3 separate regions of the Homo sapiens genome follow, and regions 1 and 2 are each linked to region 3. The links are contacts of gene promoters, found by promoter capture Hi-C in blood cells and fetal thymus (Javierre and others, 2016). All regions are on one chromosome and are shown on one strand. The core of a region is centred on a gene start or on the middle of the fragment in contact, and the rest is flanking DNA. Distances in the headings are between cores, read along the strand shown. Region 1 overlaps ADAMTS9-AS2 (ADAMTS9 antisense RNA 2). Region 2 overlaps ADAMTS9 (ADAM metallopeptidase with thrombospondin type 1 motif 9). Region 3 holds the start of ADAMTS9 (ADAM metallopeptidase with thrombospondin type 1 motif 9).

The links. Contacts are between HindIII fragments. The CHiCAGO score rates a contact against its expected background, and 5 or more counts as called.
Region 1: a contact is called between a fragment that was not itself captured here and the fragment with the promoter of ADAMTS9 in region 3, in 1 of 17 cell types (endothelial precursors). The highest score is 5.2, in endothelial precursors.
Region 2: a fragment that was not itself captured here is called in contact with the fragment with the promoter of ADAMTS9 in region 3 in 1 of 17 cell types (endothelial precursors); the score reaches 5.1 in endothelial precursors.

What each region holds. Positions count from the first base shown.
Region 1 is chr3:64,919,066-64,922,131 of GRCh38, reverse strand. All of the region lies in intron 4 of ADAMTS9-AS2 (ADAMTS9 antisense RNA 2), which reads right to left. The region is part of intron 2 of LOC105377124 (a long non-coding RNA gene); the gene reads left to right. Among named protein-coding and RNA genes, the nearest start is that of ADAMTS9, 230 kb to the right of the region's middle. The HindIII fragment of the contact is 1,645 bases long and covers 660-2,304 here.
Region 2 is chr3:64,534,321-64,537,577 of GRCh38, reverse strand. The region is part of intron 37 of ADAMTS9 (ADAM metallopeptidase with thrombospondin type 1 motif 9); the gene reads left to right. Among named protein-coding and RNA genes, the nearest start is that of ADAMTS9-AS1, 25 kb to the left of the region's middle. The HindIII fragment of the contact is 2,727 bases long and covers 399-3,125 here.
Region 3 is chr3:64,686,142-64,689,569 of GRCh38, reverse strand. It overlaps ADAMTS9 (ADAM metallopeptidase with thrombospondin type 1 motif 9), which reads left to right and starts at 1,570. Exons shown (of 40, transcript NM_182920.2): 1 at 1,570-2,027; 2 at 2,602-3,002. The coding sequence starts at 1,913. The region is part of intron 1 of ADAMTS9-AS2 (ADAMTS9 antisense RNA 2); the gene reads right to left. The HindIII fragment of the contact is 3,589 bases long and covers 1-2,553 here.

The DNA of each region.
Region 1 (3,066 bases), core at 233-2,732, 230 kb before region 3:
CCCAGGACTGAGTTTGGATAACACCTTAGAATTATTAGAGAAATCATATACGCACCTTGGTTTTTGTCCCAGAGAGAAAACATGGGCCCCCAAGGCCCTGTTTCCCCTTTGCAAGGTGTTAGCTGCAAACATGCCACCAGCAGACTGTGGGTTAGACTAAGCATAAAGCATTCCTCAGGCTTTTCAAGGAACACAATAGCACATGATCCCTTTGAGATTTGAAGTCCATCTTCAAGCATCCATCCATTCTTCTTCTACCTACATACATCATCAGATCAAAATGTGCCCCATACTGAGAGCTGAAAAATGTTTTGTAAGGAAACTGCAGCGGTATTGAGTCAGAATGTCGAGGCAGCACATGCAGCTTTAATTTGGATTAGGATGACCCAGATAAAAAAAAAAAAAAATTGTGTAGTCTTTCCAGATCCGCCGTCCTCCCCATCCACAAAAAGGAGTAGCTGCAATTTCCCAATTTTTGTTCCCCAACAGGTAACTTTTTTAGCATCCTAAAGAGCATCCCAATGGGCAGTCTTTTATTAAATGCCTACTATGCTCATTTATTGCAAAGGTATGCCTCAAACGGGGAGAAACTGGTAATTTTTCTAGCAAGCAGACTCTTGGCAAATGTTTCTGAGGTAAATCAGGATTTATTTGAAGCTTAAGACAGAGGATGTGGGCTCCAGATGGTACTTGTATGAGTGCAAACTTTTAAGTAAAACAGGGCTGACCTCAGAGTGTAAGGAGCACGTTTTTGCAGATTATTAGACCATCCGTCACTTGAGGACATTTGAATAATGTCTTTCATAGGAAATTGGGGAAATTATGTGCCTCTTTTTGAAGGTTTCAATTCTGAAAGAATATGCTCATGAGGCATTCATTGATTTCAGAAGGTGGACCCTCAGGGTATGTAAAAGGTGTGCTGAAATCCTAAAAAATGCATGATCCCCCTCAACAACCATGATCAATCGCTGCATTAAAATAATAAATAAATGAAAGACTATTTCCATGTGTTGGTGTAGAAAGCATATGTACAATGGCAGGCTCCAGAGATTCAGGGCAGATCTACTGAAGTTCTACTTGGAAGATCCCAAAGCATTTTGAGAGACAGATAAAACGTATACTTTGAGGACTTTGAAATCAACAGTCACATCCCTGGAATGCCTGGATTTAGACTCAGAAGCACAATGTTTTTTGTGCTTTAAACATCCTTCTTTCCCTTTCCTCCTGGCCAAATCTTTTTCACTCTTCAAGATTTTCTTGGACAAAGCCTTGTTCACCCAAGGTGTCACCTGCTTTTCTCCATGACAACCCCACTGTCATTATATGGCTGCCTCCCCACATGCCTGTGAGTACCCTGATGTCCGGGAACAAGTCTTACTCCTCTCTGTACCACATAGCACCTCTCACAGAGGCCACACAGAATACAGCCTAAGGTGGTTCTGGCTGAAATAAACTAAAAAGGGAGAAAGACTTCTCCAGGACATTAATCATTAATTCATTTCTCATTTCTTTTCTTTTGTGGACCCAAAGAGACACAATGAGAGACACTTGATGATTACCTAGGAAAGTTCTGGAATAAAGCTCAGGAGTCATCTGGAAAAGTTCTTGAAAGCTAGTATTAGGCAGTAGTGCAGTCATATGGATGTATGGCATTTGGTAGTCAAACAGGTTTAAACTACAAGTACTTACATTTGATCCAACAAAACTTACTAGGTGCCCATTGTGTTACATAGTAGACTGTGTACAGGGTGCTGGATTGAGGAAGATGAATGGGCCTGCCACTGGAGTCTCATAGTCTCCCAGCAAAAACTAAAAGGGAGGTAAATAACTAAAATATAATGTCATATGTGCTATTAATAGAGTCATAAACAAGGTACTATAGCAGAGATTCAAATAGATGTCAGCTGTTAACTATAGTCAATTTGTTGAGACTGACTGCTTTGGAATACTGTATTGAAGATTCTCCGGTCCTTGAGTTTCACTGAAAAAGGGAGCTGTGATCAATTAGTAATGTCTGCCAGAAGTGGAAGTGAGGGGATTTGTGGCTCAACTGCCATGTGTTTATCATCAGAACCTTACCTGTAGAAGAAAGGGTAACAGAGAAGACATCCAGGAGGAGTAGGCATTTGCATTCTATAGCATACCATATTCTTAAATTGAGCTAAAGAGTATTAAGAGGGTAAACTCAGGCACAATATAATTTTTAAAGAGTTTATATGAATAAATAGTGATTCATGAATCCGGGAACTCCAAACCAAAAGTGGTTCAGAAACTCCACCAAGGGAAGACAAGGGGGAAGAAGCTTTTATAGGATGAACATGGAAGTAGCGCAGAGAAAATATTTCACTGGTTACAGTTATACAGTTGCCTTATTTGATCAATCCCCGGAAAGTTTGTAGTTATATAATCCTAAGTTTGTTTGCTGCTTCTTACTGGTTGAGCTTAAGTTCTATTTTTCTCTAATACAGGCATTTTTAAAAAATAGTTCAAATTAAGTTTCACTTATGCTTGCAAATCACGCAAGGTTGAGGCCTAACTGGCTTTGTCCACTCAGGTATTCTTCAGGCCTGGTTCCCATTTTAAATTTGCTTTAACAAGGGTCATGTCAAAAAAGCAGACAGTCAAGTTTAAATCCAGACTTTGCTTTCTGCAAGTTACTATGCATTTCTAAGCCTCATTGGCCACCAAAGTGAAGTGGAGGCAATAATACATCCTTATTGTGTGGATTAATGGGAAAACACCTAGCAAAAAGCCCAGCCCTCAGAAGATGCTTAAAAAATGATAGTAATTATTGCTACAATGATTATGGACTTCCTAAACTTCCTTGGTATGATGACATCTCAGCTTTGCTTTCTGCTCACTCCAATGAGAGACTCATTTGCATTTGAAAGTGCAAGAAAATGGTTAAATTTTTATCTCATTAAAACCACAAACTCAATGGACAGGACAGGAAGAGATAAGATAATGAACTGCTTTCTTTCTGGCACAGTTTAGCAACACAAAAATAATCCTCATTCCCAAAGACTCCCTTTTAAAGTACATCTTGTCTTTTTAGCAGGTAAACTC
Region 2 (3,257 bases), core at 513-3,012, 150 kb after region 3:
CCTCAAGCTTTAGAAGAGCATTGCTAAACGTTTTAGAGAAGTGGAGAGGAAGCTCTCAGGAGAGAAGGAAAATAAACAAAGGACATAATGGTAAAAAGAGCCTTTCTTCCATTACCCAGGAATCAAAAACTTTTGAAGTACAGTTTTTTTTAGGGCAATTGATGGCTTCAAAAACCCCATTGGTATCTGTTGCATTTTAGTGGCTAACAGATTGGCCCTGTCCTGCCTTTTTCAAATGTCTCAGGATTTTCTTGTTTCTATATGCACATCCTTTGGGAAGCTTAAGTAAATGAAAAGTAACTTGCATTCATTTATTTTAATAATTCAGAGACAAATGAACTGATTGATTTGCTAAATCCTGACAATGAAGCAATTCCTAAATGAGAAAACCCAAAGCTTGAGAGAGGCTAATTTGTATTTTTTCCCAGCTCATTCTTCAAACCATATTGGGTACTTTAAGAATTCAATTCCTTAGACACATATTGAGCACCAGCTACACTGATGCAAGATGTGAGTTTTTCAAATCAGTTTTCCAGGAAAAGGTTTGTAGAAAGCGTGATTGTGGAGACTGCTTCGGAGTAGGTGGTTCAGCCTTTGACCTAGTGATTGCACAGAAATCAAAGCAGAATGATGTTGTGTTTGAGAATTTCTTTCTTTTACCTCATTGACCACTATTGCTTTGTGGATGTATTTATTAATAAGAGTGGATTCCCCGACAGCCCTCATCTTGAAACATAACCAGAATATTTTTTATCCTGATGACAGTAGATGTGACACTATTATTATTGATGGTATTAATAGCTAGCATTTATTATGCGTCTTTGCTTTAGTCACTGTACTCAGTATTGTCTACTCAATGTAGCATTTAAATCACCACAGTATTCTATGAAAATGCCTCCTTTTTAAAGAGGAGGAGGGTAAGGAGTAGAAATTGGGAGGATTTGCCCAAACCTACACAGCTGCCGCTCAGTAGAGTCTGGATTTGAACCTAAGTGTGTCTGAATTCATATCCATGATAGTAGACATGTCTTTTTGATTCTGTTTTCAGGCAAGATTTCTGCAACATTTGCTCCTGTACAACAGAAAACAGGATTATCCTTTGGTCTAAGCACATCTTTTGCAAACCTTTACGGACCAACTAGTAAACGTATAACTCTCAATCACTCTTCTTTAGAATAGGCAACAGAAGGTGGTATTTACAACTCATGTGCCCTTTAGACCTTGAAGATAAGGCCTTTAAGGGCAAAGATGTCCCAGAGCAGAGCCAGAAAGAACATTAGGTCTTTACTTCTCTGGTGGAACTCAACTTTCAGAGTGCTAACAATCAGCTAGGACATTTGCTGAAATGCAGATCCCTAAACTGGAAAGGGCAGAAGGAGAATGAGGAGGATGATCTCCTGTTGCATCTGGGTTCATCAACCCCTCTGGGAAGGCAGACTTAGTAGACGTATATATTGAGCATGTTCAGACACTGGACGCCCAGGTCGGCTGGGGGCATTGTCCAGAAAGAAGCTGGGTCAGCCGCCTGGACCTCCGGAAAACTTCAGTGCCAAAGCAGATCAAGTCTCCTTTCTCTTGCAGTGCAGGTGGGACAGGCAGTCTGAGTGGAAAGCAGAATGGAGGGAGAAAAGAGGGACATTCTTGGCACTAGGATGGCCTGGGCACTTTGAGTTATGTGGACCCACTCCTGGGGGCAGGAATGATAGTAAGATAAGAAAATTTTGGGGGGAGGGGGTGGCAGGTGCGGTGGGTCATGCCTGTAATCCCAGCACTTTGGGAGGCTGAGGGAGGTGGATCACTTGAGGTCAAGACCAGCCTGGCCAACATGGTGAAACTCCATCTCTACCAAAATAAAAATTAGCTGGGCGTGGTGGTGCACACCTGTAGTCCCAGCTACTCAGAAGGCTGAGGTAGGAGAATCATTTGAACCCGGGAGGCAGAGGTTGCAGTGAGCCAAAATTATGCGACTGCACTCCAGCCTAGGTGACAGAGTGAGACCTTGTCTCAAAAAAAAAAAAAAAAAAAGAAAAGAAAAGAAAAGAAAATGGCCAATGGAATAATGCAACATACAGAATCCGGTGTCTGAGGGGGCTTCAGTGCAGCTACAATCAAAAACACCTGAGCATGGCAGCCATGCCACATAAGAACCATGAACCTCTGTAGCATATTGTCATAAAAATGTCATATGTATATATATGTGAGATGGAATCTCACTCTGTTGCCCAGGCTGGAGTGCAGTGGCACAATCTGGGCTCACTGCAACCTACACTTCCTGCCTTCAAGCTATTCTCCTGCCTCAGTCTCCCGAGCATCTGGGATTACAGGCACACACCACCATGCCCAGCTAATTTTTGTATTCTTAGAAGAGATGGGGTTTCACCACGTTGGGCCAGGCTGGTCTTGAACTCTCAGCCTCAGGTGATCCACCTGCCTCAGCCTCCCAAAGTACTAGGATTACAGGTGTGAGCCACCACACTCAGCCCAAAAATATTTTTTAAATATTACCTACTGTCTGCCAGGTAATGCGTGACGTGCATTGTGCCTTCTGTCTAATCACCTCCTATTCACAGGTTAAGTCTTACTAATCCATTTTACAGATGATCTCCTTGCCTGAGGTCATGCTGAAAGTAAAGAAGGGAGCAAGATTCTAGGGTAAATCTACCCTTTGTACCAGGTTTTCAATCAGCCTCAGCACTTTTCGGGCTGGAGAATTCTCTATTGTGGGCTGTCCTGTGCATCGCAGCAGCATCCTTGGTCTCTACCCGCCAGATGCCAACAGCAGCACCATTCCCTGCCCCCCCACAGTTGTGACAAACAAAAATGTTTCCAGACATTGCCAGATTTCCCCTGGGGTCAAAATCGTGCCCTGTTGAGAACCACTGATTTAGTCCAAACTAAGTCCTCTGGTCACCTCTATCTTGTGGAATCTAGCACTCCAGAAGTGTTTATAAACTTTTGTTAGTCAATATTTATGGAACTGGCATTGAGAGACCTCTAAGCTACACTTAGTCCTGGAAATCTTAATTGAGGAGCTGGGATATAATATTTAAGTGGCTAGTCGTATGTTACAAACCATAGCTGATTCAATAAACAAAGCAATAGTAAGGCCCTGCTCTCAATAAGCTTACTGTTACATTGAAGAGATCACACGAACACTTACAAAACAATTAGAAAATGTAAGACAGATACCATCTTTTTGCATATCTACTAAGCGCCAGCCATAGCTGATTTCTTTTAGTCCTCTGTACGGTGCTCAG
Region 3 (3,428 bases), core at 321-2,820:
TTATTTTTCCATCCTTACATTTTACATATCCATTATGAAATTCCAGTAATAAGACGATGGTAACATTATCAATTTGGGTTAACAATTATTTAGCAAATTCGTCTTGCCAAGTCATTTTTACCCTTCACCAGAAGAAATATATGTATTAGTATCTCAAGAATAGTTGACATTGCTAGCATATTGCGATTTGGTTCCTGGTGTTGGCAATCTTTGGTATTTCTAGTCCTGAGTGCTAACCTACCACGCAACAGAACCTCAACCCCCGTTCTAGGATACTTGGGCAAATATATATTTATTAGTCATATATTTATATATTTTTAACGATATTGTCATGTCTTTCCTCTTGAAATTATCTTGAAATTCTATCTTCCTGAGGGCTGGTTAAAGAAAAGGCGCCACTGAACCACCCAAGATTGAACAATTCACACACACACACACACACACACACACACACACACACACGAAGGTGTAGCTTGAAGCGCCTGCTTTCAGTCTTTCCCAGTCTTTCCAAGCATCTCTCAGGCTGAAAGCAAGCGGAAGTGATTGAGAAATCCCTCCAGGGACTGGTGCCTCCCACAGGGATCTACAACTTTACACTCCATCCCCCCTTCCCCTCCCATCTCTAAACCCCCTGGTAGTGAGGGGCGCCAGAGTCCCCGCCCCTTCTTGCTGCCAAAATTTGTTCTTAACCTTTTTTGGGGCAGGGGACCTACAGAATGCTATGGACCCTCCATGAATGGTGACAGAGGTTGGTGGAAAGCACAGCTTAAATATTTTGCGAAATTTTCAAGAGACCACGTATTAGAAACACACTCCGACCTGCAGGATTAAGAACCCCATTTCTAAAACTCTTGACTTGGGGTGATTAAATCGAGAGCGGAGCTCAGGTGCCAAATCTCTTCCCGAATGAAAAAGTGTAGGAAGGGAAGGCGCTCCGGCGCTGGGCCACTTTCACTTGTAAGAAACCAAAAGATGGGGACTGGTGGCAAGAGATGGGGACGGAAGAGAAAGGAAAGGAAAAGGAGAAATGTGAGAAACAGACAGGGACACGGTGGGGCGGGGAGAAGACAGACATCACAGGGGAAAATGGGGAGAAGGGACAGAGTCCGAGAGGCACAGCAGCAGAGAGACAAGGGGGAGGAGGAAAAAGAGACTCGGAAGGGAGGAGAGAGAGGAGAGGAGAGGAAAAAGACGAGAGGGGAAGTGGCTGCACGCGCGCCAGGAAAGGGAGAGAACTTTCCCTGCTTTCCCTCCCCGGGGCAGGGAATCTCAGAAAACCCCACTTCAGCGAGGTGGCGGGGACCAGGAACAGCTGCCCCGGCGCTGGTGACGCCTCTGGCCTCCGCCTCTTGCAGCCGGCAGGGCCTCCGGCTGCGAGTCCCGCACGGGCCGGCCGAGGAGGGGACATGGTCTGGAAGGAGGCGGTCCCCGTTCGTCTCGCTTTCTCCTCCCCTCTCCTCCTCTTAGAGGCGTGCACCGGGGGCATTTGAGAGGCTGTGGACCCGCGGCCCCCCCGCCTCCGCCCCCCCAGCCCCCCATTCAAGAAGCCGCTCAGCTATCCCGGCCAGCACAGGGCGCCCGGCGCGCCTCGGAGCGCAAGTTCCTCGCCTTCTCCTGCCCGCTCGCTGGGCATTATGCGGCCAAGCAGCCGAGCCCCAGTCCTCCTCCTCCTCCTGCTCCTCCGGCTCCTCCTGCGGCCCGAGCGGCTCAGCTCTCGGCAGGCGGCGGCGTTGCTCAGCCGAGCGCAGACGGGACCCTCGCAGCGAGACCTCAGCGACTCCTAAAGTCAAAAGTTGGCGGCGGGCGCCGGGCTCCGCGCGCTCTCCACGGCCGCTGCCTCGCGTCGCCGCCGCAGCCAAGGAGGGCAGGAGGGAGGGGGGTGGGGGCAGCGGAGGGAGGGGTGGGAAGCACCATGCAGTTTGTATCCTGGGCCACACTGCTAACGCTCCTGGTGCGGGACCTGGCCGAGATGGGGAGCCCAGACGCCGCGGCGGCCGTGCGCAAGGACAGGCTGCACCCGAGGCAAGGTAACCAGGCTCCGGCCCCCGGGACCCCGCCGGCCCCGACGCCGCCTCCCGGTCCTCGCTCCTGGGCAGGGGCACCCCGCAGCGGAGGCTTCTCTCCTTTTCCTAGAAAGAATTATCTCCCGCTTTGCAGCCTCTCCCTTCTTTGGGTCATCCCCAACCAATTGCTAGGGAGGGACACTATGGAAACGAATTTAGGCAACCCCCCCCTACCTTGCTGTTGCCAGATATATCCCCATCCCCACTCCCACGCCGCAAACTAAAGTAACTTAGTAATTGGGGGCACCAGATAGCGTCATGTTTTATTTTATTCAGGTTATTTATCAATATCTGAAATCATATATATTTTGACTTGTTAATTGTCTGGCTCGGAATAGTGTATCCTCAGCACCTAGCACAGGTCCTGTTACTGGCACATAGTAGGTGCTCAGCAAATATTTGTCCACTGATTAAGGGTGAAGGGATTGACTCGAATGGGCTGGAAAATAAGGTCAGAACAAAGTCCCCACCTTCGTTTTAAATTAAAGCTTAAGGAAAAATGAATTATTGGTTCATATACCTCTGCTTCTCTCCGCAGTGAAATTATTAGAGACCCTGAGCGAATACGAAATCGTGTCTCCCATCCGAGTGAACGCTCTCGGAGAACCCTTTCCCACGAACGTCCACTTCAAAAGAACGCGACGGAGCATTAACTCTGCCACTGACCCCTGGCCTGCCTTCGCCTCCTCCTCTTCCTCCTCTACCTCCTCCCAGGCGCATTACCGCCTCTCTGCCTTCGGCCAGCAGTTTCTATTTAATCTCACCGCCAATGCCGGATTTATCGCTCCACTGTTCACTGTCACCCTCCTCGGGACGCCCGGGGTGAATCAGACCAAGTTTTATTCCGAAGAGGAAGCGGAACTCAAGCACTGTTTCTACAAAGGCTATGTCAATACCAACTCCGAGCACACGGCCGTCATCAGCCTCTGCTCAGGAATGGTAAGTGGGCGCGCGCCACCTCCTCTCCCCTTCCGCCTCCTCGCCCGCTTCTAGAAGACTTAATTGTCCTCTAAGCCTAGAGACCCTCACTGTGGCGAGGCTCCGCTCCTCTCCGGCGTTAAATATCAGCTAGAAACTCGTATGGTTTGGGTAGCTAGCTCTGTGCGTGCGAGTACACTGGCGTGGAGCGCACACACCCGCCCCCAGGGGCTTCTGGATGTTTCAGAGCTTTCTGGAGTTTGGACTCGGTTCAGCGGCGCGTTGCCCAACGCTGCGAGGCGGCCTGGAAGTCAGTTTCCAAACTCGGAGAAAGTTACTGGAGTTGCGGTTCCCTGCAGCAAACTTGGCCACCCGGGAGCGGAGCCGCTGAGCGCAGGGCGGACCAGACTCCTTATTGGTGCGCCTTGCATCGGGGATGTGGGGCTG